Regions from separate parts of the Homo sapiens genome. Here regions 1 and 3 are each linked to region 2. The links are contacts of gene promoters, found by promoter capture Hi-C in blood cells and fetal thymus (Javierre and others, 2016). All regions are on one chromosome and are shown on one strand. Each heading gives the region's core, a stretch centred on a gene start or on the middle of the fragment in contact. The rest is flanking DNA. Distances are from core to core; before and after follow the strand shown.

Evidence for each region. Contacts are between HindIII fragments. The CHiCAGO score rates a contact against its expected background, and 5 or more counts as called.
Region 1: a fragment that was not itself captured here is called in contact with the fragment with the promoter of MON2-AS1 in region 2 in 3 of 17 cell types (total B cells, naive CD8 T cells and naive CD4 T cells); the score reaches 6.4 in total B cells.
Region 3: a fragment that was not itself captured here is called in contact with the fragment with the promoter of MON2-AS1 in region 2 in 1 of 17 cell types (total B cells); the score reaches 5.7 in total B cells.

What each region holds. Positions count from the first base shown.
Region 1 is chr12:62,614,595-62,618,212 of GRCh38, reverse strand. MIRLET7IHG (MIRLET7I host gene) reads right to left here. Exons shown (of 2, transcript NR_186001.1): 2 at 1-3,618. Among named protein-coding and RNA genes, the nearest start is that of MIRLET7I, 13 kb to the right of the region's middle. The HindIII fragment of the contact is 2,304 bases long and covers 712-3,015 here.
Region 2 is chr12:62,482,775-62,486,511 of GRCh38, reverse strand. MON2-AS1 (MON2 antisense RNA 1) reads left to right here and starts at 1,570. Exons shown (of 2, transcript NR_186172.1): 1 at 1,570-1,743; 2 at 3,480-3,737. It overlaps MON2 (MON2 regulator of endosome-to-Golgi trafficking), which reads right to left. Exons shown (of 35, transcript NM_015026.3): 2 at 2,279-2,342. The HindIII fragment of the contact is 7,471 bases long and covers 1-2,062 here.
Region 3 is chr12:62,634,215-62,638,040 of GRCh38, reverse strand. No RefSeq gene overlaps it. Among named protein-coding and RNA genes, the nearest start is that of MIRLET7I, 32 kb to the right of the region's middle. The HindIII fragment of the contact is 913 bases long and covers 2,058-2,970 here.

The DNA.
Region 1 (3,618 bases), core at 614-3,113, 130 kb before region 2:
AAATGTATCTTTGAACTCAAATTCAGTATTTGATCAAACCATACAACTAAAAATGTTAATTAAAAACAAAGCCAAAACCAACAACAGCCTAAATATTGGGGAAAATTCCTTTTGTGAATTAAATTCACTTAGTAATAAATTCATTTTTTTAATTAAGGCTTTGCAAGCTTTCAGTTTATGAAAAGATGTTATTATTGATGGAATTCAGTTTTCCTGACAGCTTGGTATTATTTTTAAATCTAAGAATGCTCATCATTGTAGTAAGAGACATGGCCTAGTATCATGCAAAGACCTTTCCTAAGGTATGGCAAATCAGAGGATTTTCCCAGGCCCCATACAGTGCACAATGCCAAATTGTTGTTGGAATCCTTCAGAATAAGGAGTTTCTGTAATTTATCTTACACCCGTGGTAGCCAGCACATTGAGGGATCACATAGTGATAATAATAATGGTTAAATAAAGAAATGTGTATTTATATACATGTGTAAATTGACTCACAGAATCACATGAACAAATTTATTTTCTAAAGTAAAACAATTCAGGTAAAATTGTCCTCTTCTTTTCTGGTCCCCCACTCTTCAAAAACCCTCTTTCTTTTAGGCTTTCCCTTTCCACACTGTTATTGCCATTAATTTTATTTAGATTAGAAATCTGTACAAAAATGGTAGCAAAGAGGAGACAACGCATACATCTGACCTAGACTCCAAAGCTTTACAGATGGCCCATAGCATGGAGAGAAGCCAGGACAAATTTTAGCATAGTCTTCTACATTGCATCAATGTCATTACTTGAGTATCAACTTAAGGATCCTTACTCAAAATAGACTCAGGTGGCCTAGAAAAGTGCTTGAAATTTTCTGCCTATTCCATGGGGTAAACATTGAAGTTTGCTATTGTAATCATTCAAGTCAAATTTTTGTGTTAACACTGGCATTATTTATATTAGCTATGTAGTCACTCTGTGTTTTTTTATAAAAACTAAGTAGATAAGTTCAGAGTTTGGATAATGGTAAAAAGCCAGAAAATGTCTGGAACATAGAGAGAGGCCTGGGGTGGGGGTTGGAGAGGACTGTAGAGGTTAGGGACTTTGGGGAACTATAAGTCAGCATGAGGGTGCTGGATTCCATGGGTAAAGATAATACCACTGACAGGGAAAAAGAATGATAAAAGAGACTAACATTTAAAAAAAAAAATTATGTGCCAGGCAGGCCTTGTGTTAGATACTTGGCATATACAGACAAGAGAGTCACAGGAAGGAGAAGTTTTGTGCTTATTTACGGTCACTCAACCTACATTCAAATACATTTTTGTGTTGTTTTATTATATGATTTTTTAAGTTACAAAAAAAAAAAAGAGGGAAGAAGGAAAAGCAATAAGGCAAACTTGCCAATAGGTTCATGAACAAAAGTCAATTATGGAATGTGGCAGAAGGCAAATATAAATGTATTCAAAGTTTTACCTTTAACAATTACACTTGTGGTTCCAGTTATCTGTTGATAATATAAATTACTCCGTATTTAGTGACTCAAACAACAATTTTATTTCTCTCTCATGGGTCTGGAGTTTGGCTGGATTCAGCTAGGTAGTTCTTGCTGAGGGTCATTCATGGGGTTGTCATCGGATGGTGGCTGGTGATGGAAGCATCTGAAGACTTACTAATTGCAGCCGGGCATGGTGGCTCATGCCTACAATTCCAGCACTTTGGGAGACTGAGGTAGGAGGATTACTTGAGCTTAGGAGTTCAAGACCAGCCTGGGCAACATAGTGAGAACCCATTTCGATTTATTTAAAAAAAAAAATTAAAACCAAAAAGAAATGAAGGCTTACTACTTGCATATTTGGAGCCTGGGCTGGGAAGGCTCACACATTTGGTCCTCTTCTCTCTCTCTGTGGTTCTTCCACATGGTCTTTCCAGTGTTGTGGCTTCAGGGTAGGTGGTTTTCTTCCATGGCAGCTCAGGGCTCCAAAGGCACATGTTCTGAGAAAGAACTAGGTGGCAGCTGTATCACCCCTTATTACCCTGTCTCAGAGTTCACACAGCATCCTTCTGCTGCATTTAATCACAAAGGTCCACTCATGTTCCAAAGGAAGAGACACAGATTCCACCTCTTGTTGAGAGTAGTATTAAAGAATTGGTGGACACATTTTCAAACCACCATAATCTGCTCTCAGGCCACATATTATTTACATCCTTCCCACATGCAAAATATACTCACCCCCTCCCAAGACCTTCTGAAATTCTCATTTATTAAGACATTGGGCTCAGGCTCAAGGTCCAGGACTTTATCAGTGAAATCAGGTCACGTGTGGATAAAGATACTTGTGTGTGGTCCTGTGAGTACAGCTCACGTGGCATTCCTTGAGGTCTGAAAAATCTGTCAGCTAGTGAGACAAATTATCTCTCCCTCATACCCAATATACATAGTGGAGTAGGTATGGGGTAACCATTATAAATAATCCCATTCACAAAGGGAGAAAAAAGAGGCATGTGGCGACCTCCATAGCAAGTCTATTGTCTTTCACGGTTCTGGGGCTTGACTAAGCTAATCTAGATGGTTTTCGTTGAAGGGGTCTCATGAGCTTACAGCTAGATGGTGGCTGGTGCTGGAACCATCTGAAGGCTTGCTCACTCATATATATGGCACCTGGTCTGGGAGGACTTAAATAGCTGGGATTGGGAGCAGCTGGGCTTCTTCAGACACCTCTTTCTAACTCTATGTGATTTCCCTGTGGTCTCTTCAGCATGGTAGCTTCAGGGTAGCTATTCTTACATGGCAACCCAGAGCTCTAAAATGCAGGGGCATGGGGAAGCTGTATCACCTCTTATGACCCTGTCTCAAAAGTCACATAGTGTCTTTTCTGTCATATTCTATTTGTTGAGGCAGCACAAAGGCCACTTAGGTTCAAGAAAAGGGAACACAAGACTATATTTTTTACTGAGAAGTGTCAAAGATTTTGCAGACATGTTTTTAAACCACCACAACTGGAAGAAGGAAAAAGAACAAAAAGAAAAGCTTATGAACTGTTGCTGAAAAATTATGCTATATCCTATGGCACCAAATTGGTTGGTGGTTGCAGCCACAAATCTGAGTGATGATGGACAAAAACAGGTCAAGGGTCATATTCAAATGCATGAAATTATTTCAGCTTTTTGTTCCTCAAGAAAGACCTATTTCTTACTTCACTTACTGAAAGAGAGAGAGAGAGAGACAGAGAGAGAGAAAGGGAAAGAGAGAGAGAGACCCAAATGCTCTTTCAGGAAAGCTAAGTTCTAAAATGGAGGGTCGGCAAACTATGGCCTAGAAGTCAAATCTGGCCTATGGCCTGTTTCTGTATGGCCCAAGAGCTGAGAATGATTTTATGCTTTTAAAGAGAAAGAAGAAAGAGAAGAAGAAAAAGAAGGAAGAGGAAGGGAAGAAAAGGAGGAGGAAGGTGGAGACCCAGCAGCATATGCAACAGAGGCCATCTGTGGCCCGCAAAGCTAAACATACTCTGGCCCTTTGCAGAGAAGTTGACCCCTGTTTCAAAGCACTTTCAAATGTGTTTTCAGATGGTTTCCACAGCTAGAATAGCAAATATACCTTTAAAGTGCTTCTAATATATAGATTTTCCTCATAAA
Region 2 (3,737 bases), core at 321-2,820:
CTCCTCAAGTATATGGGCTCTGGATACTACGAAGATTAAAACATGACTATTAATTGTATTTGCACCAGATCTGTTCTAACTTGATTTGAATAATGCAAATTGAATTAAAATGAAATTAACAGCCTGCCTATATATTTAAATCATACCGACTAAGTCAAAATTTTTCTTACTCATCTTAAGAGTAATTTATTAGACATTTTACTTGGGATAGAATGCTGGAATAACAGTGATCCTCTGAGGAAATCAGTCTTTTTTTAAAAAAAGTCTTCCACAAACTATAAAACCAATAAAAATTTGTATTATTGGAGAATAATTAAGGACTTACCACGGTATCAACAATGATATTAGCAACAGTAAATATTTTAAATATTTACAGTGATATTCTAATACGATTGGCCTATGGTAAGTCTCCAACATAAAAATATCCAGGTCATCATTTTTCTTTAAACACCAATTTCCCCACAGTAGCTAATCTGCCTAATGTACATCTCCCATTAAAACCCACATGCTGGCCGGGCGCAGTGGCTCACGCCTGTAATCCCAACACTTGGAGAGGCCGAGGCGGGAGAACCCCGAGGTCAGGAGTTCGAGACCAGCCTAGCCAACATGATGAAACCCTGTCTCTACTAAAAATACAAAAATTAGCCAGATGTGGTGTTGGGCACCTGAAATCTCAGCTACTCGGGTGGCTGAGGCAGGAGAATCGCTTGAACCCAGGAGGCAGAGGTTGCAGTAAGCCGAGACCACACCATTGCACTCCAGCTGGGATAACAAGAGCAAAAGTCCATCTCAGGAAAAACAAACAGACAAACAAAAAAAACCCACTTGCCAGCCTTCCTAACCCTACCATGTGCACCTCTGCCTTTACCCACCACTTTCACTATACCACTTCTCAATATGCACACAGAGCATTATTTACTTCTGTGCATAATGTTATAAAACTATTGGGTGTTTTGATAAGACTGTTCAAAATCAGGGAAAAAGCTGTGGGAAACAGATGTAATTGAGGAGCGCTTATGCTAAGGGCAAATTTCCAGCAAAGCTGGATAGCCTAAGTGAAATCCACTCTTGCCCCCGATCCTTAATCTGACCCCAAAAATCTTAATTTCATTTCATAACACTCTGAAATCCCACCAGTTACAGATTTACTGGTATCCCTTTTAAAAAATGTAAAGTATATGAAAGTTAAAGAGATTATTTACTATTTGGACTCTGTAAATTAATTTAATAGGACTACTTTCCTCATAGATTAGCTGAGATCAACAGCACTACTGGAACTGGAAATGCAGATTAAAGGATCACTGAAGCAAGCACTGGTTACATATGTAATACTTGGGAGTAAGTGGCTAACGTGGAAACCTGGTGATACCATGGTAGCACACTGTAGCAGGAAGAACATGGGCTCCTGAACACTCCTGGATTTTAATCTGGTTCTATCACCTTTCCTGTGACCTTGGGCAAGTAACTTAACCTCTTCACATCTCAATTAGCTCTACTATCAAATAAGATAATATTTCCCCACAAGGTTGTTATGTAAGATAGAATGACACAAGTGCCTTGCATATAACAGATTCTTAAAAAAAAAAAAAAAAAAAAGCCAGTTTACCTCTTTTCCATGTTCATTATTGAGGCAAGAACAAAAGGCACCAAGGAAGAGAAAGGAGTGGACTGGGTAGAAAAGAAGGATGCCAAAGAGAAACTCCTGAAAATTCCTCCTTGAAAATCAGGTTCAATCAAGAGAAGGTAAGAAAACATTTTTGTTTTCTTTTCTCTACTTCACTCTCATTCTTTTTTCATGATCATACTGCCTTAATCCCAAGACTCAAAATTCATACGGTACAACTAAATACAGAAGACTATGTTATGAACTGTTCGTATTATATTAAAGAGAAAGTAGATCACAGAAGGTGGACTGAGAACAAATCTTTCATTCAATACAATGGAACAAATATTACTGAATGCTTTTTATGGTGTGTCTCAGGTGATTAGCAGGAAGTGGAGGAGAATGCGAAGATGAGTAAGAAAAAATTCCTTGCCTTTAAGGAGTCAGTAGTGTTAAGCTTTCTGATTTCAGAGAATTTTTGTAGCATTCGTCTCTGGGAAATACAGTCAGTTCATAAGTTATGGACTTTTGCCCATTCTGTTTCATTATGAATAGCATATGTTAGGGCATGAGGAAGAGATGTTACAGAAAACTGATGGCTTTTACAATAAAGATTCTACTTTTACTATTAGTCAAATTTTTGTTTATTATTAAATTTTTAATACAAAAAATTACCTGCCAAAATTTCAGTGTTTCGTGCAGCAATTGTTTTAACTTTTATTATTCCTGATTCAGCAGCCTGCAAGAATAAAAATAATTAGAACACAAAATTTACTGCCAAAATGAATTATCTATGGAAAATAAGTCATATGTGATAGACAAAATATCAAGCACAAAGTCAGTCACTACCCTACCACCTTTTTAATTTTCAAACCATCAGATACTAAGCCCAGTAGTGACATATACGTTAAATGTAATAAAACATGATTAATTTGATTATTCACATGCAAACTCTGAATGCACTACAACATGTTGCCTTCCTCTGCCTTAAGGCATTATCTGGAATACCTCAATCCCCTGCAAAGTTAAATTTTCCGAGAATAAAAATAACAAACAAAAACAAAATCTACTGAAAATAATTAGGCTCCTTTTCCCCATTTCAAGCCTCCTCTCTCTCCACCACACACAAAAAAATTATAGAACACTGCAAAATCAAGTAAAACTACTGTGTTGGATTTATTTATTTATTGTTGATGGAGTTTTTTGCTCTTGTTGCCCAGGCTGGAGTCCAATGGCACGATCTTGGCTCACTACAACCTCCGCCTCCCTGGTTCAAGCCATTCTCCTGCCTCAGCCTCCCAAGTAGCTGGGATTACAGGCACCCACCACCATGCCTGGCTAATTTTTGTATTTTTAGTAGAGTGTTTTATTTTTGTACTTTTTGTATTTTTAGTTGGCCAGGCTGGTCTTGAACTCCTGACCTCAAGTGATCCACCCATCTCAGCCTCCCAAAGTGCCAGGATTACAGGCATGGGCCACCGTGCCCAGACCTGTGTTGGATTTTAAAAGCTACTTTGTTTTCTTTTTTGAGAATGGATAACCAAACACTTCATTAACCGTAGTATGTTTAGCGGGCAGTACTGGCAAGTCACATAGTATTTTACAGAATGCCACAGAACTGCACTGTCCAATTTGGTAGCCATTTGGCTACATGTGGCTATTAAGCACTTGAAATGTGGCCAGTCTGAATTGAGCTATGCTCTAAGTGTAAAATATATACTAGGTTTTGAAGACTTAGTATTAAAAAAAAGAATATAACCTATCCCCTAAATATTTATACTGACTACATGTTGAAATAATATTTCAAATTATTACGTTAAATTATTATTAAAATTAAATGTCTGTTTCTTTTTACTTTTTTTCCCCTTTTTTTTAGAGACAGGATCTTGCTGTACTGCCCAGCCTGGAGTGCAATGCCACAATCATGGCTTACAGCAGCCTCAAACTACTGGGCTCAAGTGATCCTTCCACCACCGTCTTCCAAGGAGCTGGTACTATAGGTACATGCCACCATGTCCAGCTAATTTTTCAATTTTTTTGGTAGAGACAGGGCCTTGCTATATTGCCTAGGCTAGTCTTGAACTACTGGCCTCAACCGATCCTCCCACCTCAGCCTCCCAAAGTGCTAAGATTA
Region 3 (3,826 bases), core at 1,265-3,764, 150 kb before region 2:
TGTTCCTCTGCTCTGCTGGAGTCACAAACCCATAGCACCCCCCCCCCCCGCCCCCAACCAGGGACTTAAGGCCTGGGGCCCTCACAGGGGTAGGTGGTGCTCGGGTCCTAGGTGGGGCCCAAGAAAGGAGACCAGCTCCCTCCTACCTTGCTCACAGCCCCTTTGAGGGGCAGAGCCAGCACGGCCGGGCCTTTTCAAGACTGGGGTCCAAAGCCCAGCAGCAAGGTGGGTGGGGTCAGCGTGACTCCTCTGGGACAGAAGGGCAGTTCAGGAAAGGGTGGGGTCAGCAGAGCTGCCTAAAGGAACCATACTGAGGACCCCACTGCTCTCCTAACAGAGTTATTTTCTTAATGGTTGTCCTGAAGATTACAATAACATCTTAAAACAATATAGTTTGGATTAATACAAACTTAATTTCAATAGTAAACAAAAACTTAGCTGCAATATATACTTCCATTTCCTTCCTTCTCTTCTGTGCTATTTGTCATACAAATTACAACTCTCTACAGTATAAGCCTGTCAACAGTTTAGTAATTATTGTTTTATGTAGTTGTCTTTTAAATTATATGGGAGAAGAAAAGAATTAGAAACAAAATACATTTCTACTGCCTTTTATGGTTTCTGTGTATTTACCTTTACCAGCATCCTTTATTTCTTCATGTGGATTCAAGTTATTCCCTAGTGTCCCTTCATTTTAGCCTGAAGGACTCCCCTTAGTATTTCTTGTAGGCCAGGTATATGGCTCATGCCTGTAATCCCAGCACTTTGGGAGGCCAAGGTGGGAGGATCACTTGAGGCCAGGAGTTCAAGACCAACCTGGACAACATAGTGAAACCCCATGTCTACAAAAAACTTAGCCAGTGTGGTGGCTCATGCCTGTAATCCCAGCACTTTGGGAGGCCAAGATGGGTGGATCACTTGAGCTCAGAAGTTTGAGACCAGCCTGGACAACATATCAAATCCCCATCTCCACAAAAAAATACAAAAATTAGCCGGATGTGGCGTCATGTACCTGTAGTCCCAGCTACTTGGGAGGCTGAGGCAGAAGGATCGCTTGAGCCGGGGAGACGGAGGTTGCAGTGAGCAGAGATCATGCCTGCACTTCAGCCTGTGTGATAGAACGAGACTCTGTCTCAAAAAAAAAAAAAAGTTTACAAATAAACCGGGTGTGCACCTGTAGTCCTGGCTGCGTGAAAGGGTGAAGTAGGAGGATCACTGAACCCAAGAGTCTGAGGCTGCAGTGACCCATGATCACACCACTGTGCTCCAGCCTGGGCAGCAGAGTGAGACCCTGTCTCCAAAAAAAAAAAAAAAAAAAAAAAAGCATTTCTTGTAAACAGGTCTGCTAGGGCTGCAAACCTATTCTGCCTCACTGTTGGCTGCTAGTCTGCTGGTACTCAGAGCTGTCATGGTTGAGAAGCTGTTAGTGTTCAAGCCTACCACAGATCTGGAAAGAAGGGTAAGGAGATTGGTCAAGTAAAAATGTTACATACAGGTGAGGTGTCACATGCCTGTAATCCCGACTATTCAAAGATGCTGAGGTGAGAAGATCGCTTGAGCCCAGGAGTTTGAGACCAGCCTGAGCAACTTTAGAGGCAAAGTCTTGCCTCTAAAAATAAAAAATAAAAATTAGCTGGGCATGGTGGCACGCACCTGTAGTCCCACCTACTCAGAAGACTGAAGTGGGAGGATCGTTTGAGGCTGCAGTGAGCTATGATTGCACCACTGCACTCCAGCCTGGGTGACAGAGACCCTGTCTCTTTAAAACTAAATGTCACAAAGCTCCCTATTTTTACTGAGGTTCAGCCATTTTTCTTGAATACACATTCCTCAGATTGTTGCAGTCCTTTGGTTAATTTCCAGAGTTCTGAAAAAGTTGGTTCTGGCAATTTTTGCCAGAATTTTCTTTGTATGGAGGAGTAGATTTTCAGAGGTTTTTATTCTGCCATTCTGAAAGCCCTTTTCCACATGAAAAAATAAAAGTTCAGGTAGGTAAAGTAGTTTCCCATGGACACAGTGCCAAGTAGCACCAAAGCCAATATTTCAAATCTAAAGCTTATATGTAGTCGACACCCAACTGCCAATTACCACTCCAGTTTTCTGTAACTTCTCATTAGATAATAAGGGCTAGTCACAAAACCTCCATTGTGTACACCCTTATTTGGATGGCATTTTTAACAAAGCCCTTTCACATTGAATCCCCATCCCTGAACTTTGCACTGAGACATACTAACTAATCAATGTCATCTGCTGACCCACCAGCACCATTTTCTATAAAATGTGTTTTTGTCACAGGCATCTTATTTTCCTCTCATCTAGTTTTGACTCTTGCTCAGCTGTAGCTCTGCCAACAGCTCCTTAGCATGCACTATGAAGGTGTATGTTGTCAAGGCTTGTCTTCATGGTGACATTGAGTACCAGACCCCATTATAAGGCCCTTACACAAGCAGAATGAATGGTGTGTTACCCCACGGGTTTTAACCATAGTACCTGAATCTTCCAACTTTTCAGTAAATAGTGAGGAGCAAGTAAGATTTGGCTCTCTATAAATGCCAACTAATAGTCAAAAAGGACAGATAGTCAGGGTCTGGAAGAACTGAACGAAATTATGTTCAAATCCTCTTGAACTAGAAGTATGCTTAAAACAGATCCTACATTCTTGAGCAGTGGTCTGTAATAAAAGTAATGGTAAAAGGTAAATCTTTTACCAGGGTGCCCAGTTGCACTATTTGTTATAAAACCGAATGTGTCTGGATGGAAAGTCATTTGCTGTGGTGGTATCAATATTACAGCTCTTGACATCTCTCTCTATGGGCTCAGTTGACCTGAAATAAGATGACCATTTCACATACTAACAGGGCATTTTTCGATGATCTGTTTGACCTTTGCCTCTGGGCTCAGCAATAAGAGGAGTAATAAGATGACATTTTTAGCAGAACAAAGGAACAAGAAACCCAAAGAATTTAAGCTTAAGGGAGCTTAAATACAACAATGAAATAGCTGTGAACATTTAGTTAATACCTGTCCCTTCCTGCAGTGCTTCTGTAGCTTGGCTGCATGTTAACATCACCTGGGAGCATTAAAAAAACCCTGTCTACCAGGTCAGACCTCAGACCAATTAAATCAGAATCCCCCAGGGAGGGACCCAATCATCAGTATCTTTTGAATGTTTTGGCCAGGCACGGTGGCTCACGCCTGTAATCCCAGCACTTTGGGAGGCCGAGGCGGGCGGATCACCTGAGGTCAGGATTTCAAGACCAGCCTGACCAACATGGAGAAACCCGTCTCTACTAAAAATACAAAATTAGCCAGGTGTGGTGGCACGTGCCTGTAATTGCAGCTACTTGGGAGGCTGAAGCAGGAGAATCGATTGAACCCAGGAAGTGGAGGTTGCGGTGAGCCGAGATCACACCACTACACTCCAGCCTGGGCAACAAGAGCGAAACTCCATCTCAAAAAAAAAAAGTTTTCTAGCTGATTCTAAGGTGAGAAACACTGTGTAAAGATACTAAGGACACACCTCTAAAGTAACGTTTGCAGACTTATCAGACAAAAGATACAGGACATCTACTTGGATTTGAATTTCAGATAAAGAATTTTTTAAATTAAGTATGTCCCTTGCAATATTTGGGTTGTACTCATACTAAAAAACTACTATCATCTGACATTCAAATTTAAATGGGTGTCTTCTATTTTATCTGGGAATCTTACACAGGACAAAACTGAAAAATCAAACAAGAGGGGTAGAAATAAAGACTCAGCAACAGGGAAATTTCACTGGGTATAGGTTCCTGTCTCAAAGAACAAGAACACCTGGAATATAACA